Regions from separate parts of the Homo sapiens genome. Here region 1 is linked to region 2. The links are contacts of gene promoters, found by promoter capture Hi-C in human tissues and cell types (Jung and others, 2019). All regions are on one chromosome and are shown on one strand. The core of a region is centred on a gene start or on the middle of the fragment in contact, and the rest is flanking DNA. Distances in the headings are between cores, read along the strand shown. Region 1 overlaps CTNNA1 (catenin alpha 1). Region 2 holds the start of LRRTM2 (leucine rich repeat transmembrane neuronal 2).

Region 1 (5,353 bases), core at 2,689-5,188, 47 kb after region 2:
CCATAAGGGTAAAGGTCTTTGGTTTTTTCCACCACACTATTACCTCCTTAGCACCATGAAAATCCAAAATTATTCATTTTATTCATTCCTACAAACCAGCATGAGTTCATTAAGCAAGCATTTACTGAGCACCTCTTGCAGCATTATACTAGACCATGAATGAATATTTTTAAGGAGTTGTCATGTTCCAAAGGCTTAAAAACCTAGTTGCAGAATAAAATGGATAAAAGAAATGCAATTAAACAACAATTCAAGGGAGTATACAATAAGGCACAAAACTTCAAGCACCAAAGAAATAATGTAAGATGATGTAGTTTGAAATGGCCTTCAGCAAAGAGATGAAAAACAAATGTGGGGCCTGAAGAAAGAGTAGATTAGGTTTACATAGGTAGGAAGGGAATTTCCAGAACATAATGAACAATGCCCTAGTACTAAAGACAGGAGCTCAGCCTGGCCTGGGCAGGCAGAACAAAGTGGAAAATGGAGAAAGTGAGGAGACACTGAAGTAAGGTAATGGCAGTGGGGACAGAAAGGGACAAACAGAATAAACTACCAGAGCAGTTTTTCCACCTTAGTTGCACACTGGAATCAACTGGGAAGTGTTTTAAAATAACTGACGCTTGGATCTTGACGCAGAGATTCTGACTTAATTGGTCTGGGGTACACCTGAAACATCAAAGTTGCCCAAGGACTGTAATGTGCATCCAAAGTTAAGAATCACTGCCTCAGAGAAAAAGCCAGTGGAACCTGGTAATAAGCAACACAAAACGAAGAAAGAAGACACTTTACGAATGTGTGTCCATAAAAATATTAATAACAACATGAGAGAATCCAAGAAACAGAAAAAGTGAATATTATGTGAGCCTTTCTGGACTTTACAACAATGTTTATACAAAGTTCCACGTAGTAAACAAGTATTAATTAATGTAGGTGATTTCAATTCTCCACATAACATAATTTGTCTAATATTTTTCAACAGAAATAAAATGAACCATTTTTTTAAAATCAAGATAGAAGTTAACCAAAAGATTACAAAATAAATCTTCTAGAAGAGAAAGCCTCCTGGATTTCCCAGATAGAAATAACCTCAACCTCCTTGCAATTTCCACAGCATTTTGGCTGTACCTATGATGACACTCCCATTAAACCCCCTATAGAAACTTTGTCTGTTCCAGAAGGGAGGGATCAGAGCCTCATTCCTCCTCTTACATTGTGCCCAACACACTGCTTTGCATGTGTCACATACTCAGAATGAACTGACTGACAGGCAGACATTGCTGGTTATATTCTGACACTCACTAGAGGTTCTAAATGTTTTTGAATGCTTCATAAATAAGCAAAAATCTATCCCCAGTTGCTTCTGCTTCTTCCAGACCCTTTTATCATTCTAAGCTTTCTTCAAGTGTGCTCCACTGCCCTCACCGTTTATCCTCACTCCAGTGCTTTTTGACAGGACCAAGCCTGTTCACTGTTACGTGAATCAATAAAAGGAAACTAAAGATTTTTACCTTTAGGAGAAACATACCCAGAGACCATCTCCTAAAATACATTTCTAAATCTCAAGAAGATTTCTTTCTTTTGTGCTTTTTTGTTTTTGAGACAGAATCTCGCTCTGTCGCCCAGGCTGGAGTGCAGTGGTGCGATCTTGGCTCACTGCAAGCTCCGCCTGCTGGATTCACACCATTCTCCTGCCTCAGCCTCCCGAGTAGCTGGGACTACAGGGGCCCCCACACCACGCCTGGCTAATTTTTCTGTTTTTTGTTTGTTTATTTTTTGGGTTTTTTTTTTTTTGAGATGGAGTCTCCCTCTGTTCCCCAGGCTGGAGTGCAGTGGCGTGATCTTGGCTCACTGAAAGCTCCGCCTCCTGGGTTCACACCATTCTCCTGCATCAGCCTCCAGAGCAGCTGGGACTACAGGCGCCCGCCTCCATGTCCGGCTAATTTTTTTGTATTTTTAGTAGAGACAGGGTTTCGCCACGTTAGCCAGGATGGTCTCTATCTCCTGACCTTGTGATCTGCCCGCCTCAGCCTCCCAAAGTGCTGGGATTACAGGTAATTTTTCTGTATTTTTAGTAGAGACTGGGTTTCACCATGTTAGCCAGGATGGTCTCAATCTCCTGACCTTGTGATCCGTCTGCCTTGGCCTCCCAAAGTGCTGGGATTACAGGCGTGAGCCACCGTGCCCGGCCAAGATTTCTTTCAAGATCCCTACCATAATACTCAAATTTCAGCCTCACATCACACATTGTTCCAGTTTTCATTTAAGAATGCTACTGCAGTCTCCATGTCTTCAGTATAAATGAGTGCTTCCCACCTTTTCTTACACTGATGGCATGAATAGACAGTACTGTTTGTATGGCACTCTAGGTTTCGAAACCTCAAGGTTACTCATGACCAGGGGTGATTGGCCCAAGAATGTGACCAACCTCAAGACTCAAGGGATATCTTATAGACTGATTAGGAGGCTCTAAAACGGAGCAATCGGAACAGATTTATCACATCCTCCTTCCCACCAAAGTCTGTTTTTGAAGTGATTTCCTCATCATAACTACATAAGACACTTTTACACCATTTCCAGCACTACCCATGATAGCAGATGACTGATCCACTTACCATGAGTTTTTGTTCCCCTGTTTAAGACTGCAACATTGTGAGCCATTCTGCAACATATCCATCTTTTAAAATATTTTCTAATGTTCAATCTTAGCTATGGATTTTTAAATGTGTCCCACATTTTCACTGTGACTTAAAAACCACTTTTTCCATTTGATTTAACAAAACCTCTAATCTCATTTTTCTTAAGTAGACTGCCTATAATCAAAACATGGCTTTTTTTTTTGAGACACTCTCGCTCTGTCGCCCAGGCTGGAGCACAGTGGCGCGACCATGGTTCACTGTAGCCACAACCTCCCAGGCTTAAGCGATTCTTCCGCCTCAGCCTCCCGAGTAGCTGAGACCAGGCGTGCGCCACCATGCCCAGTTAACTTTTGTATTTTTTGTAGAGATGGGATTTCACCATGTTGCCCAAGATGGTCTCAAACTCTTGGGCTCACGCAATCCACCCACCTCAGCCTCCCAAAACGCTGGGACTACAGGCTTGAACCATCATGCCCAGGGGGCAATGGCTTTAAAAAAATTCAATATGCATCACTAATTTCACAGTATGGTAGAGACAAGATAAACAGAGGAAGGCATTCATCTTCACCCTAGGAATTCCACCATGATTTACCATCACCCATTAACTTTTACAGGCCTGTAAGTGAACAGACAAGATGTATGGCAAACGAACAAATGAGAAAGAACCAAGATCTTTTTTTTAGGTGTTAAACAGGTAAAAAACGCTAGTGATGACAACTAATTTGTGTTGTTGTCCTTCTTCCCCTTAAAATGATTTCATATAATTTTTACTTAATTTATTGCTAATTAGCTACAGTAAAATATTGGGTCCAAGGTCTAAATGACAGGAACCCTAAGCTAGCATTAAATAACCAGAATAGAAGAAGTATAAGCGAAGGAAAAAAAGAAAGACATATGGCAACAGAGAAAAATCAACAAATATAGAATTTTCTATGGCCTTTTAAAAAAAAAGTGGGTATCAAATTTCATAGCCTGGGTTTTTATGCACAAACCTTCAAAATTCAAAAACACTATCCAGAGTTTGCTTTATGTAACTCTACTTGGCAATTATCTACTCTTGTGACATTCAATATGGTTCACGAAAAAACTTTCACAACTATAAATATTGAGGAGGCAGGTTTTCAACATTCCCTTTTGCCCAAAATTAGCCACCTACTTGGGATAATGAAACTTTAGTGGTATAGAAGGTCATTATTCTTTGGAGAGGCATGCTAAAATATTAGAGGTGAAGCATCACAATGTCTACAACTTTCTTCCAAAGGCTTCGGGGGAAAAAAGGATGTTTGTGTATATACCATACATACATATACATTTATATATACACACACCTACACATGTATCTACATGTTAATTGATGAATACAGATAAATTTCCTAGGTATTCACTGTATGATTTTTATAAGTTGAAAATTTCTCAATAAGCTGGAGAGAGGAAAGAGCCACTTAGCCATTTATCCATTTCTTTAAAAATCTGACCTACTCCCAAAAATCAAGGAGTCAAGGACATATTTGGTATTTATAGTGAAAACATCTCAGATCCAACATGTTATAGAAAACTCCTCATCCATAAATATCTTACTTCAAAGAAAAGCTGTCAAACTCACATTGCCCATGTACTCCGAAAGCAGGTCCTGCAGGGCCTGGCGGACAGCATTACACTCTGCCACAATTCGCTCACGACGGTCATCACGCGTGCAGGACGAGTCGGCCATCAAGGCAGCCCCACTAATGATGCTTTCCAGACGCTCCTCCAGGGAAGGCCTAAAGCGCTCCTCGCTGAAGCTCAAGGGGTCCACAATGATTTGTTTCTGCAGAGAAAGTATTACCGAATGTTAGTACTCATCTCTGTTCCCTTCTTTATTCAAGGTGAGAAAAGTGTTATTAGTAATATCAAGATTTAACACAAAAATTCCAACATCTGAAAGAAAGTTATACTTCTTAGCAGGTAAGGGGCTGTCCCACAGAAGATGGCCTACTGTTGATCACTCCTCAAAGAAAGCAGTGGAAGTAATGCTATGTAGCCAAACAAGGCATGATAAGGTATGATACCACAAATACAAACATATCATGCTCACACAACTTATTCTGAACATCTAAAGGTAAACCCGTATAAGACTAGCAATTCAAATCATCAGATGAGAATTACAAGGAAAATAAAAGTTACCTCTTACTTGCAGAATATAAAACTGCCATGTGATATTTAGAACTGTTGCACCACAAAAAAATTAAAAAATAAAAGCCAAACAAGCCAGGTGTGGTGGCTTATGCCTGTAATCTCAACACTTTGAGAGATTGAAGGAGGATTGTTTGAGGCCAGTTGAACACCAGCCTAGGCAACGAGGCAAGACCCTGTCTCTACAAAAAAATAAAATAAGTTGGGCATGGTGGCACACGCCTATAGTCCCAGCTACTCGGGAGGATCACTTGAACCCAGAAGTTCAAGGCTGCAGTGAGCTATGATTGTGCCACTGCACTCCAGCCTGGGTAACAGAGCAAGACTTTGTCTCTTAAAATATATACACGTGTGCGCACACATACAAACTGATCTCTAACCTTAAAGTTTCAGAAAGAAATGCATTTACAATGAATTTCCATCTATTTGCCTCATCTTACACATCTAATCAAGTTTTCTAAATAATTCAGTCTCAAATTTATCCTGTTATGTCTAAATTAGAGACTTCCTTTCCTCAAAGACCTCTAGTATTCTGTAAGAGATGA
Region 2 (4,910 bases), core at 907-3,406:
CCGGCCTGGGCGACAGAGCGAGACTCCGTCTCAAAAAAAAAAAAAAAAAGAAATTTAAGAGACCACTCCTATGAGACTACTGTCCTTAGAACTTTTGGGGGCAAGTTCCTGTAGAACAGCAGCTCTGAAACCTAGGGTGAGAGACCCTGTAGGAATCGGACTCAACCTTATCCACAGAAAAATGAACAAGCAAAAAAATTTCACAAGACAGTTTATGGAACCAGGTTAAGAAGTTCTAGCCTATTGAGAGAGACTATAGGAAGGATTAAGGTCAGAGGGGGAGTAGCATTCCCCGGGTCTAAACCAGGACTTGTTTCCTTCCCTTCTTTAACCAGCAAGAAGGAACAAAGAGGACGTACTAGTGCAGGCTCATTACTAAGGACTCAAGAGTCTGTTCACTGGCAACTTTGGCTTGGGAATTTCCATTCAGCCTACAAAATGTGTCTAAGAACCACAATGCCAATCTCATCTTCTTTGCTTCCTCTGTCCCTTCACAGGTGTCAGACCTGCCCTGTGGTACGAAGACTCTCAGAGCATTCCTGCTGCCTTCTGTCTCCCTTTGTACTTCGTAGGCATTTTTGCCTCTTGTACTTCTAATTCTACCTTGGGATCACTTCTAGGAGGACTCAAACCACACACCTGCACTGCTGCAGTTTTCATAGCACCTTTACACAGAGCCCTAAGGAAGGGACCTTGGAGTCTCACAGCTCTCACTCCAGCACAACACTACAACAGAAAAATTTTACCCAAGACAATTACTTCTTAGATCTGCCCAGTGGGATGAATCCCTCAGAACCAAAAAGGCCAACGATGTTCTTGTTTCACAGACACCATCAGTAGTTTTAAAGATGTCTGTCCTTAGGTCTGAGACAAGACCCACAAAGGGTAAGTGCCAATGATATGGGAGAAATAGGTATGTTGGGTCAAATCAATAAGGCAAGATGTAGAAAAGGGCTTACCTTTGTCAGGCCTGAAAATATAACATCTAGAAACATCTTTTGCATTTATATAACACTAAACATGGAGCTATACATCCACAACTGAGGTCTGAAAAGTGAAGACACCATTCAACAGGGAGAAACTGGAGTTAGGGCAAGCAAAATCAAGTCAAAACAAAAATCCCAGTCCAAAGCATGAGTGACCTTTTGTATTCACAAGACAGGTTCTAACAACAGCAGTAGGCTCAGTTAAGTCAGCCACTTGGTGGCTGGGAACTAGGGTGCAAATGCTCTATTATTTCAGTGTCACAACCACCAACCTCAGTACCAGCGGAGGCTTTTAGTTATGGAGTAGGTGAGATTCTGAGGTAAAATACAAGGGGCCATGTCAGAATCCAGCTACACGGTATCACTTGTCCTAAATCATCTCTGCTTTGCTGTTAGGGCATGTGCATTAAAATGACTGTATCAACCTGCCTTGTCCTCCCAGGAGGACATTTAAAGATCAACTCAGCATTATTTTTTCAATCAGTATGGCGACAAAACATTGTTATAAAATAGGAGAAAGAGAAATCTTTTTAGAGTTCCCCTGAAATTCTCAAAGAAAAAAATAACCACATGCTTTGTTTTGCAAGCTTCCCCTCCCCCTTTATTCTTCGTTTATAATGTTAAGCTCTTGATGACAAACAAGCCAAGCCCACTTAGCTAGTTTATCAACACATCTAAAGCAAATCATAGTCATACTTTGATTTTAACCAAGCATGACAACAAGGCAACTGAATAGCTTTCCAAACTACCAGTGCAGCGACACTACCTTGCATAGGCTGGTGTTAAATCAGCACTTCATAAATTGTGCAGGCTTCTGCCCATTTAGATGATCTCTCTATGCAGAATCGGCAGTCTAACACTGGCTCTCACAAGCATTAAAAATCATCACTCTGCTAACCCAACTCACTGTTCAGATGGGTCTTCTTGAATGCAGCCTTTATTACAACCTCACTGCTGCTTCCTACACTGAAGGAATATCATGTTTTTAAGTCAGGAGTTCTTCTTTCTCGCTTTATTGTAATCAGGGGGTCCTGCAACGACCCCGATGCTGTTACAAAGCATGGTGCTTTATAACAGTAAAGCTTCTGGAAAACCCAAACAAAAGACACGTCATCCGGTGACGTCAGCCTATATACAGTTCTGTGTGGTCGCAGCACATAAGCAAATCCATTCTTGTGCCGTTTCTCGGAAAAGCTTTTCAGTAAATGCACTCATGCTGCTCCAGGAGCTCTTCTCTGCAACAAGCCACCCATCTGCCATCAACAAGTTAAGACCAAGAGAACTAACGGCTGCGGAAAGGAGACTGAAGCTTTGATTAACCAGCTGAGCAGTTAGAGGTGGAGAAATTTAATAACTTATATTCAAAACTGATTTAGGGATCAGAGCAATCACAGAAAATGAAACCAATGCTTTCCAGAGGGATATCCTAAGGAAAAAACAACTCGTCCTGGTGGATTCAATTTTACTTGGAAAGCCTGGGACACAGAAAACAGGAAACTGGTCAAAGGCTCCTACATGTTAGAGCCTTTTACAGACTCACTGCGTTGAGTCTAACAACCGCGACTGAATGCAGCCTCCAATGTGCTCAGAAGAATGGGTAAGTCTGTGCATTTATATGTCTTGTACATTCAACAAGGAATCACGCTTTTAAAATAAGCTACCGAATTCACATTTTATGAGGGAAATCACCATCATATTTTGGATTTTGAGGTTTAGGTAAAAGCATATATCGATGATGACAGAGACATGTTTTATCTTCTTTTTAAATGGCTTAAGTTTTGGTCCAGTCATACCAATAAGGTTAATTTTTCTGCAGTAAATGAAAAATAAGTTATATGCAGTGAAATCTTTTGCTATAATGTTGGTGGTGGTTGTTTTTTTTAAATAGCCCATATGTTCTGCTGAAAAATATCCTATCTTCTTGTTTTCCTTAAATTATATTCTGCAGGCTTACATTTCAAGTGGCCATTAGGGGCCCCTATGCTGGCAGCAATATATGCAATGAGTATGGTTTTAAAAATGCTGCCTGCCCTGGGTATGGCGTGTCCACCCAAATGCCGCTGCGAGAAGCTGCTCTTCTACTGCGACTCTCAGGGCTTCCACTCAGTGCCAAACGCCACAGACAAGGGCTCTCTGGGCCTGTCCCTGAGGCACAATCACATCACAGAGCTCGAAAGAGATCAATTTGCCAGCTTCAGTCAACTTACTTGGCTCCACTTAGATCACAATCAAATTTCAACAGTAAAAGAAGATGCTTTTCAAGGACTATATAAACTTAAGGAATTAATCTTAAGTTCCAACAAAATATTTTACTTGCCAAACACAACTTTTACCCAACTGATTAACCTGCAAAATTTGGACCTGTCTTTTAATCAGCTGTCATCTCTGCACCCAGAGCTCTTCTATGGCCTTCGGAAGCTGCAGACCTTGCATTTACGTTCCAACTCCCTGCGGACTATCCCAGTACGCCTGTTCTGGGACTGTCGTAGTCTGGAGTTTCTGGATTTGAGCACAAATCGTTTGCGAAGTTTGGCTCGCAATGGATTTGCAGGATTAATTAAACTGAGAGAGCTTCACCTAGAGCACAACCAGCTGACGAAGATTAATTTTGCTCATTTCCTACGGCTAAGCAGTCTGCACACGCTCTTCTTACAATGGAACAAAATCAGCAACTTGACATGTGGGATGGAGTGGACCTGGGGCACTTTAGAAAAGCTAGACCTGACTGGAAATGAAATCAAAGCCATCGACTTGACAGTGTTTGAAACGATGCCCAATCTTAAAATACTCCTCATGGATAACAACAAGTTAAACAGCCTTGATTCCAAGATCTTAAACTCCCTGAGATCCCTCACAACCGTTGGTCTCTCTGGCAATCTGTGGGAATGCAGCGCCCGAATATGTGCTCTGGCCTCCTGGCTGGGCAGTTTCCAAGGTCGGTGGGAACACTCCATCCTATGCCACAGTCCTGACCACACCCAAGGAGAGGATATTCTAGATGCAGTCCATGGATTTCAGCTCTGCTGGAATTTGTCAACCACTGTCACTGTCATGGCTACAACTTATAGAGATCCAACCACTGAATATACAAAAAGAATAAGCTCATCAAGTTACCATGTGGGAGACAAAGAAATCCCAACTACTGCAGGCATAGCAGTTACTACCGAGGAACACTTTCCTGAACCAGACAATGCCATCTTCACTCAGCGGGTAATTACGGGAACAATGGCTTTATTGTTTTCTTTCTTTTTTATTATTTTTATAGTGTTCATCTCCAGGAAGTGCTGCCCTCCCACTTTAAGAAGAATTAGGCAGTGCTCAATGGTTCAGAACCACAGGCAGCTCCGATCCCAAACACGACTCCATATGTCAAACATGTCAGACCAAGGACCGTATAATGAATATGAACCCACCCATGAAGGACCCTTCATCATCATTAATGGTTATGGACAGTGCAAGTGTCAGCAGCTGCCATACAAAGAATGTGAAGTATAATATCTACCCATCATCAAAAATCACATCAGATAAGTAACCTATTTTACATAGTAGAGGCTAAATACATATCTAATTTTTACCAATGGTGACATTAAGCCTAATTTTCCAAACTAAGTGGAGACTTAGTTTTTGAAGTGTTGAAGTATTTTTAATTTTTTAAATGAAACCATATTTTAAGTGTTAAATGAATCAATGCTCACATTAATTTGCACTCCTGTTGGAAAGTCTAAAATGCTTACTTCAAAATAAGAAATGTATGTAATTATATACAATCGTGTGTAAACCTTTACACTAAGGTCTCCATATACTATTTTTTTCTACTGAAAACAATTTAGAAAGAAGCTATTGGGCAGAAACAGATATAGATCAATACCTGTTTGATCACTGCTCTCCATCCCATGTACCACAACTATCTTGCTGCTTAAAAGG

What was found. The method cuts DNA at HindIII sites, captures the fragments that hold promoters and counts their contacts. A contact is called where the count stands out against the background at its distance.
Region 1: a contact is called between a fragment that was not itself captured here and the fragment with the promoter of LRRTM2 in region 2, in 1 of the 25 tissues and cell types used here (hippocampus).

Annotation. Positions count from the first base shown.
Region 1 is chr5:138,826,605-138,831,957 of GRCh38, reverse strand. It overlaps CTNNA1 (catenin alpha 1), which reads right to left. Exons shown (of 18, transcript NM_001903.5): 7 at 4,240-4,443. Among named protein-coding and RNA genes, the nearest start is that of LRRTM2, 46 kb to the left of the region's middle. RefSeq lists an enhancer at 2,959-3,459. The HindIII fragment of the contact is 9,361 bases long and covers 1-5,353 here.
Region 2 is chr5:138,872,581-138,877,490 of GRCh38, reverse strand. LRRTM2 (leucine rich repeat transmembrane neuronal 2) reads left to right here and starts at 2,156. Exons shown (of 2, transcript NM_015564.3): 1 at 2,156-2,583; 2 at 2,935-4,910. The coding sequence starts at 2,580. The coding sequence ends at 4,481. All of the region lies in intron 7 of CTNNA1 (catenin alpha 1), which reads right to left. The HindIII fragment of the contact is 3,441 bases long and covers 1,822-4,910 here.